2 separate regions of the Homo sapiens genome follow, and region 1 is linked to region 2. The links are contacts of gene promoters, found by promoter capture Hi-C in human tissues and cell types (Jung and others, 2019). All regions are on one chromosome and are shown on one strand. The core of a region is centred on a gene start or on the middle of the fragment in contact, and the rest is flanking DNA. Distances in the headings are between cores, read along the strand shown.

Evidence for each region. Contacts are between HindIII fragments. The study calls those that stand out against the background at their distance.
Region 1: a contact is called between a fragment that was not itself captured here and the fragment with the promoter of FAM171B in region 2, in 1 of the 25 tissues and cell types used here (pancreas).

Annotation. Positions count from the first base shown.
Region 1 is chr2:186,729,054-186,733,680 of GRCh38, forward strand. The region is part of intron 1 of FAM171B (family with sequence similarity 171 member B); the gene reads left to right. Among named protein-coding and RNA genes, the nearest start is that of FAM171B, 37 kb to the left of the region's middle. The HindIII fragment of the contact is 6,804 bases long and covers 1-4,627 here.
Region 2 is chr2:186,692,350-186,696,773 of GRCh38, forward strand. It overlaps FAM171B (family with sequence similarity 171 member B), which reads left to right and starts at 1,711. Exons shown (of 8, transcript NM_177454.4): 1 at 1,711-2,062. The coding sequence starts at 1,825. RefSeq lists a silencer at 1,515-1,874. The HindIII fragment of the contact is 10,077 bases long and covers 1-4,424 here.

The sequences.
Region 1 (4,627 bases), core at 105-2,604, 36 kb after region 2:
TTATTTGAATTTTAGTGATTCTCACTACTTAACGATGCTTGTAACCATCTGCTAAATAGTTAAATCTTCTCCAGCAACCTCAGGACCTAGCTCACTGATACGTATTTTATTTTTACTTGGTTTTTCTCAACATTTAGATTATATGTTTTCTAAGGGTGCAGTTGAATCATTTAATACTGAACCATTTTAAAACGAATAGTGATATGTTGAAAAGATGATTATGTGGGCAAGACATAATGATTATAATTAAGTGACAGAGAAAATAAATATGCTCATTGAAAGCTAAAAAAATACACTGGAGAAGGGTAGGTAGACAAAAGCACCTCCGGCTGAAAATCAGATATTTAATCATGGAATCTGCCCTGTCTAAATGCCAAAGTATTTTTTTTTTTCTGGAGGAGAGAACTGGTAGAGGATTATTAGGGATATATATTGCTTCTGGCTGACTGTGCTGCTTGCTTGATCAAGCTGTTGACACCATGGAAATCAGAAGCATCCCGTTTAAGTCATAAGCAGCTAATTCTTTATAACTTTTCCTTTTACTTGAAATAGAAAAGAGTTGTTCATACCTCATTAATTACTTTGACCAGGCTTTCAGCTGAGGTTTTTTTTGTTTTGTTTTGTTTTGTTTTTTAAATGCTGCTTTTGCTGTGGCTTGTGCTAGGGTGAGAGACAAACCAAGTTTGAGGATGGGGAGAAGAGGCTCAGAGAGTCAGTGAATGAGAATTTCCTTCTGAGCATTGGTTGTGAGAAAATAAGTTAGTAAATATGATGAAAACCAAATCCCTAATGCTTTTCAATAAGAGTTAATGTGGTACATGGGACTTGGTGTCAGAGGGACTTGCCTGTGAATCCTGGCTATAACCTTATTAGCTGTGCAGTTTTTCGTTTTTTGTTTTTTGTTTTGTCTTGTTTGTTTTTGAGACAGAGTCTCTCTCTCTCACTCTAGCCAGGCTGGAGTACAGTGGCACGATCTCACCTCACTGCAACCTCCGCCTCTGGGTTCAAGCAATTCCCCCGCCTCAGCCTCCTGAGTAGCTGGGACTACAGGCACGTGCCACCACACCTAGCTAATTTTTGTATTTTTAATAGAGACAGGGTTTTACCATGTTGGCCAGGATGGTCTCAATCTCTTGACCTCGTGATCCACCTGCCTTGGCCTCCCAGAGTGCTGGGATTACAGGCGTGAGCCACCACACCTGGCCAGCTGTGCAGTTTTAATCTCAATTTCCTTGCCTTAAAATTGGGAAATGTCTTACAGGTGTGTATTAGGATGAAATTGGACAATATGTGTAAAGTTTCCAGCACTGGGCTGTATATGTGTGTGTGTCACACAAGTAAACATGTATGTATGTATGTATAAAACCTGTAATTTATTATGTCAGCTCTAACTGAGTGGCATTAAGGAGGAAACAACTGCAAGTCAGTTGTTTCCATTTTGAGCTAGAGAGGACCCTGTTAGTCAGGCCTGTATTATGCACTAAGTCTACTAAGCACTTTAAGATATAGATATAGGTGATCTCATCAGAGAGGGAGATTATGATTTGGATCATCAAGACTTGACCTTTGCAAATCTATTTTTTTCTAAATATGATATTTTCTTATCAGATTTATATTAACATTATTGCATGTGAAAAAAATAAAATCATCCATTCTGGATTAGAAAACGTTTTAGAAAACATTTTATAAATCAAATCCAGCTTCAGAATGTCAGGAGGGTTTTTAGTGTGTCTTATTTTGGCAACTGTACTTTTACAAGGATGAAACAGATGGAATATGCAGTTTTTTTTTTCTTTTGCGAATTTAGCTTAAGATCTTACCACACATTGAGATTTATCTGTAAATCCAAAGGCTCTGAGAATCTCTGAAATTGAACTTTGAAACAAATGAATTAATAAAAATTCCCTATTGAATATGCTGTTGAAGGAGCCATTGTAGGTACATTTGGTTTGAATAAGATCTGTTATTGAATTGGAATAGAGATCCTAATTCCCTTATGAGTTAGTTATGTTCAGTTTGTCTCTCATGCGGTTTATCATGTTTTTGGTACTCAACATTATCCTTAATTCCTTCACATTCTGTAACAGGTATCAATGTCTATAAAATAGTGGCCTAGTAAATAGTATCCTTTATTTACAGTTGTACATATTTAATGTGCTTACTTAAGGAGCAAGCAACAGAAACAAACTCTGGCTACAAGAAATGAAAGGGCTTTCTAGGAAAGATTATTATGTAGTTCACAGATCAGCTGGAAGGGCTGCACAACCCAGCTTCTGGAAGGAGAGGGACTAGGGAAGCACTAGAAAGCACAATGGTAAGGCCTCATAGACTTTCCAAGGTAATTCAGTTCCAGCAACCATTAGCATCTCTGTAACTGTATTCACATTTTGAGGTCCTGATAGAATCTATCTGGCTTATATTAGTTGGGTGCTTTATGCTAGTGGCTCGGTAAATTTTGACTGAAGGATTAGGGGCTGGGTGGCTGAGAGAATTATTTCAAATTGAGCAGCAGCTACTTTTTCTCTACACTTATAGTTTTTTATACTATCCAACTACTTATCCAAGAAAGCCCATCATGTCATATATATCGGGTCTGAAACCCCTGGGACACAGACAGATACAGATACTGAGACCTATCGGGAACTGGGCCTCACAGCAGAATGTGAGCGGCGGGTGAGTCAGTGAAGCTTCATCTATGTTTACAGCCATTCCCCATCACTCACATTATGGCCTGGGCTCCACCTCTTGTCAGATCAGTGGCAGCATTAGTTTCTCATAGGAGCATGAACCCTATTTTGAACTGAGCATGTGAGGGATCTAGGTTGCATGCTCCTTATGAAAATCTAATTCCTGATGATCTGTCACTCTCTCCCATCACCCTGAGATGGGACCATCTAGATGCAAGAAAACAAGCTCAGGGCTCCCGCTGAGGGGAGTTGTATAATTATTGCATTATATATTACAATGTAATAATAATAAAGTACACAATAAATGTAATGCATTTGAATCATCCTGAAACTATCCCCTAATGTGGTCCATGAAAAAATTGTCTTCTCTGAAACCAGAGTCTGGTGCCAAAAAGGTTGGGAGGCACTGATATATCTTACTATTATAACTTTTTTTTGTTGTTTTTTAAACCCAAGTGTTATATTTTCCATTTGAGTTTGAGGACATGGTTTGGCATGAGTATGTGTGTATATGGCCAGGGGGTGCTTTTTCTTTTTAATTGATGTTTTATAAGAATTTAAGTTCTCAATGATGATTGCAATCATATATTACTTGAGTTAATTTAGTAGTGTCACCCCAAGCCCCACTGTTCCATAGTTCCAAGATGGCTTTGGAGTCCTTCGTGGTGTTGGCAGTGGTGAATCCACATGGGTCTGCAGCCACCTCAGTTCTTGCCTTCCTAGAAGAAAGAATTCAACTGACGGGTGTAAGGCAGAGAGACACCAAGGCAAGTTTTAGAGCAGGCATGAAAGTTTATTAAAAGGTTTTAGAGCAGGAACAAAAGTAAAGTGCATGTGGAAGAGGGTCAAGCAGGCAACTTGAGATTCAAATGCACGGTTTGATTTTTGACTTGGGGTCTTATGTGTTGGCAGCTTCCAGGGTTGCTTTACTTCTGTGATTCTTCCTGCGGAGTGGGCTGTCTGCATGTGCAGTGGCCTGCTAGCACTTGGGAGCGGCTGCATGTGCAGTGTGTTTATTGAAGTTGTACACATGCTCACTTGAGGCATTTTCCCTTACCAGTTAAGTGTTCCTAGAGGAAGGTCATATTTCAGTTAAACTCTGCTATTTTACCTTTTAGTGCACATGCTTGGGCCCACTCACCCAACTCCTGAGATCTCATCAGGAAGCTGCTGATCACCAGTTTCAGATTTTCTATCTATTGAGAGACAGCCCTTCCCTGGTGCTGGTTGTGACCAATTATTATTATAGAGAGACAGTTTAACAACTGCCTGAACATTGCCTGATGTTTGCCTGACATTCCTGGTGAGGGTGGGTCCTCTCCTGCCTTGCTCATATCTGATTACCGACTGTAACAGTGCGTGTATTTGAAGGCTGACATGGCCTCTTACCATCTGTGAGACTTTGGTCAATTTTCATGACCTATCTGAATCTTCGTTTTTTGAAATCAATAAAATGGATTTGATGTTACAAATTTTACAAAGGTATATTGAGATTTTTGTGATCTATACATAGAATACTTGGGATATAACTGACCAATGGGTTCTTCTTGCCTACTTCCCAGTTAGAGCCAATTTATCAAGGCAGGGGAATTGCAATGAAGAAAGAGTTTAGTTCACACAGAGCCAGCTGAACAGAAGATCAGTTTATTTATTACTCAAATCAGTCTCCCCCAAGAATTTGGAGGTTTTTCAAAGATCATTTTGTCACAGGAGCCTTGGGGTGTCACTTTGCCAGCCAGAAACCTTTGTGGCTGGTGGCTCCTTTGCCCAAGTTTTGCTCAGGCCCACTGGGCTTGTTCTTCCCACTTGGCCCAGGAGGCTGCATTCAGCTCACACTACTGGCCTGGATCCCATGCCTGCCAAGGGTGAGCCAGGCACAGAACATTGAGGGGTGCATGAGTGAGTGAGTGTGGGTGAGTGGGGGGTGTGTGAATGAGTGA
Region 2 (4,424 bases), core at 461-2,960:
TTTTCATTTGCTTAACCAAAAAATACTTTTCCAGTACTGAGAAGTTTGTTGTTTTCCAGCATATTGAAAACACTGGGAGGGACAAGGTAAGAATGATAAGGGTGGAAAAGGACAATGAACTACAATGGTAAATGGGGTGATGTCACAGCAGGTGACATTTATATTGCACTATGAGATGTCCCACAGTTACTCCAAATACAAAGAGACCACAACTGAACAAGGCAGGGCTCATTACTCTAGGCCAGTTAATGTTGATAAGGTCATAAGCAGCCACCTAAGATCTCAATTTGTCAATTTAGGTGTCACACTAGGCATATCTCCTCCTCTTCCAATTAACCGTATCTGTTTATTGTAGTCTTATATACTGTGTCTCCTACTCTTTTCTTCTCCTTTTCAGTTTCAATGACCTTTGGCATCTCCTATGGGTTTTGGCAAACACCTCTAAACTGGCATCTTCTCTTCCAATTTATCCCCCTTTAATCCATCTGCCATACTGAGAGCAAAGTGATCCTCCTAAAATGCACAACTGGTAGCAAGTTTCTTCCCTGATTAATTTCTTTCATTATCATCTACTGTGTGAATTTCAATTTCTGTATACAGCATCTAAGTTTATTACAGAAGTTAACAAATGTGAAGTACTTGAGCACACAGTAAGTACTATAGAAATGCTTGTTATTATTATTTTTTTAATGACCTGGTCTCCACTCTCCTTTTCAATCTAAAACACTGTCATTCCTCCATTAGAATAATTGCTCACACTTTTGCAAGCCCACTGTGCTTACACACATCTGGGCTTCACACACACACACACACACACACACACACACACACACACACTCTTCCACGTTCCTGATTTCTCCTGTGTGGAAGTCTTACTCTTTTTTATATTCTACCTCTCCTGGTGTTTCATAGCCCCTACATACACAAGATATTTTCTTCCAATTCTGAGACCTCTGGACTTGTATTGCTTTTCTGTTTGTAGCCACCACATTGGGTTCTAATTTGTTCCTGTGTTCCTCTCCCCTAATAGATGTTGAGCTCCTGGAATGCAGGGATTGTATTTTACTTATTCCAAGCACCTGAAGAAATGCTGGCACATGGTAAGCAACTAGTATTTAGTAAGATTTTTTTGAACAAATGAAAAGGATAGGCTAGAATTAGATAAAATGTAATTAAGAATATTTAATGATATGGAAAGAAATTCCCACTAGGGCAGAGAAAAGAAGTTTAGTCAAAATCTGGCGCGCTGCAGTTTAACTTCTAGCTAAGCAATGATGGCGGTGATGCAGCAAAGCCTATTTGTTTGAGATCCTGGCTTTTTGATCCGTTGGTGCCACCCACGCTATGTGCTGGATGGGGGTAATCAATATACCACCTTCTCTGCTACTTTGGGCTCAGGTGGAAGGAATTTTATTCCACTCTCTGCAAATCTTCCCGGTGCCTCAGTGGGAAGTGGACGCTGTGAGGGTCTACCAGCTCCCAGAAGGCCTCCCCTTTCTGTTTCCCCTAGGGCCCTCCACCCGGGCTGCAGCCCCAGCATCGCGTCCTCTCGGAGCAGCCTGGCCCCAGGTGGCTGCGGGGCGCGGGACCGCGGGCCCCGGCTCGCCCCTCCCCGCGCGTCACATGCGCGAGGATGCGAACTCCCCTTCCCTCCTCCTCCGCCCCCTCCGCCTCCCGGGCCTCTTCCTCCTGCCGGTGAGGGAGTGCTTGGCAGATTGCGCGAGGGGGAGCGAGCGAGCGGGCGCTGCCAGGAGCCCGCAGCCCTGGCGCCCGCCGCCGCCCGGAGCCCCGCAATATGCCGCCGCGGCCCTCTGGCTCTAGGCCATGGCGAGGCTCTGCCGGCGTGTCCCCTGCACCCTGCTTCTCGGCCTGGCCGTGGTGCTGCTGAAAGCGCGGCTGGTCCCCGCGGCCGCCAGAGCGGAACTCAGCCGCTCCGACCTCAGCCTCATCCAACAGCAGCAGCAGCAGCAGCAACAACAACAACAACAGCAAAAGCAGCTGGAGGAGGCTGAGGAGGAGAGGACAGAGGTGCCTGGGGCAACCTCCACCTTGACGGTTCCAGGTAGGTCCTGGCTGCCCAGCCCGGTCTTTCAGTCTCGGCCGGCGATCTCTTAGGGCCTCGCCGGCTTCCTCGCCCCTTCCCTATCCATTCCTATCCTCGTTCGTTCCTGTCACCATCCCTCCCGATCTCTCTCCCCAGACTGGCTGCCCAGCCTTTGGTCCCTTGATCTGGTGTCGGGAATCTGCCCTCCGGGTAATGAGCTTTCTGAGCAGCTCAGAGCACTGCGGTGGGTTGGAGAGGGGTCGGGAAGGCTGGGGGTGGGTGACTGCCTGGATTGATCTTTTTCTTTTCCCTCCCTTCTTCCTGAATTCTACCCTCTGCCCTGGGAATGACTGTAACACACACACACACACACACACACACACACACACACACACACACACCGTTCTTAAATCCCTTAAACATTTTGTTCTCTATCCTTTTCTCTCCTAGAGACTGAGAAATCTTGCCATGGACACCCACACACCCCTTTTCACCATTTCTCCATGCCTGCTATATTTAAATTTAGCCATGAAGAGAGAAATCTTTATATATTTTATTATTTATTTCTCTTTCTCTTTACCCCAGGAAGGGTTTAAGGGTTCATCTTATTGCAAAGAACTCTTTTAGTACAATAAGATGAAGCAAAACAAAACAGGAGTTTGTAATTGAAGGAAAGGGAAAAGGAGAGGGGGACACATAAGGTGAAGTCTGGAGTGGTGTTAGAACAGCAAAAGCCTATCCCTAGAGAGAGAAATCTCCTTACTTGTTAGTAGAACTTAAATGAGGCAGATTCTTGACACTGTTCAGTGAAGGTGTAGAAATACGGCTGTAGTATAGGTGGCTGTAACAGTTCCGCAGTTCCTCCCTCTTTCCCCCCATTAAAGCTCCATCGGTAAGCAAATAGCTAGATTATCCATGTATATTGCATCTCCCTACCCCGCAACCCACTTCGCTTCATGGCTGTAGATTCTTGTCTGCTATTTGGAAAGAAAAAAAGCCTCCAATTTTCTGGCACGAGGGCTTAGGTTTTGTGAAACCAAAGTGAATTTTATTATGACGTTTGTTTTTGTTTTAAAATCCTGCCTGGTAACACTATATGAGTGCTGAAAATGAGATTTGAAAGAGTGGAATCAGCATCACATTTTGTATTGCTTGCTCATCGTCAAAAAGCAGTACACAGGCATGCCAGCTGCGATTCATGACACAGCCAGGATGATTTAATTTATCAGAGTGCTCTGAGCATAGGATGAAATCACCAAAGTGTGCAGGAAAGCATGTGTTTCTGACACCCTCTTAAACCAATTAATAACACTCAAGTGTGGCTAAAAGTCTTGAAAGGTATACAGTGTATGGTGGTTTTCCTACCCAGCTTTTAATAACTGAAAGTGATAATATGGTTTGGGTGAGGCTGCTGTTAGACATACTGTTCGCTAAAGTTAAGGAAATTGGATATATCAGATTGATTGGCCTCATTAATAGAGATATTTCATAAATTCACTATGAAGCCGAAGTCTGGGAGAGTGTTGGTGGGTTTTATGGTTTGCAGTATATTTTTATTTCAATGGACCTTTCAGGAATATTAAATGAATTTTGACTACTGTAATATATATATATATGTTGTGATTAGGGTTATGAACTACTGCAATAATATGAAACCTGAATCCAGCATGCAAATTAAAATGTTTGCTTTCTGATATTTGTGAGGGAATATTCTGAAAAAGCTGATTGTCTGGGAAATTAGCAGTTTTTGTTTTATTTACCTATTAGATTGAGATAAAGGAACCACACTCTTCGATAGATCAAACTAGAACCTGAGAAGTAACCTATGATGATTCTTCTTCCTCAAAAACTCTAATTACCCAAGCCAGTGGCAAACAAGGGAGTAATTCAATTGATTGCTGTTTTAGTTATTGGAATATTGAGTCTTATAATGCAACACAGCTTATAGACAAATGAAGTTAAAATATTCCTTTGAATGCATTGTGATCTCTCCATTGAACTGGTCTTCCTGTTTCAACCTTTGTTTCCCTACTGTCTGTTCTCCTCACACAGCTAGCGATCTTTAAAAAAAAAAAAAACATTAAATAGGATCATTTCTGCCCACACTCCTCCAATGGCTTCCCGTCTCTCTCATACTAGATGCCCAGATCGTGAAAATGGCCTACCAAGGTCTAGATCCTTTGTATCCTCCTTTTCCTCCCGTCTCCTTTAGCCCTTACCCTAACTCTCTCCACTGTAGCCACACTAGCTCTATTTTCTTTAGCTTGCAAGTGGACCCAAGTGTTTGGCCTTTGCACTTGCCATTTTCTCTGCCTGGAATTCTGGAACTTCACATTTTTCAGGTTTGCTCAAGTGTCTCAGTAACTGACAGACCTTTTCC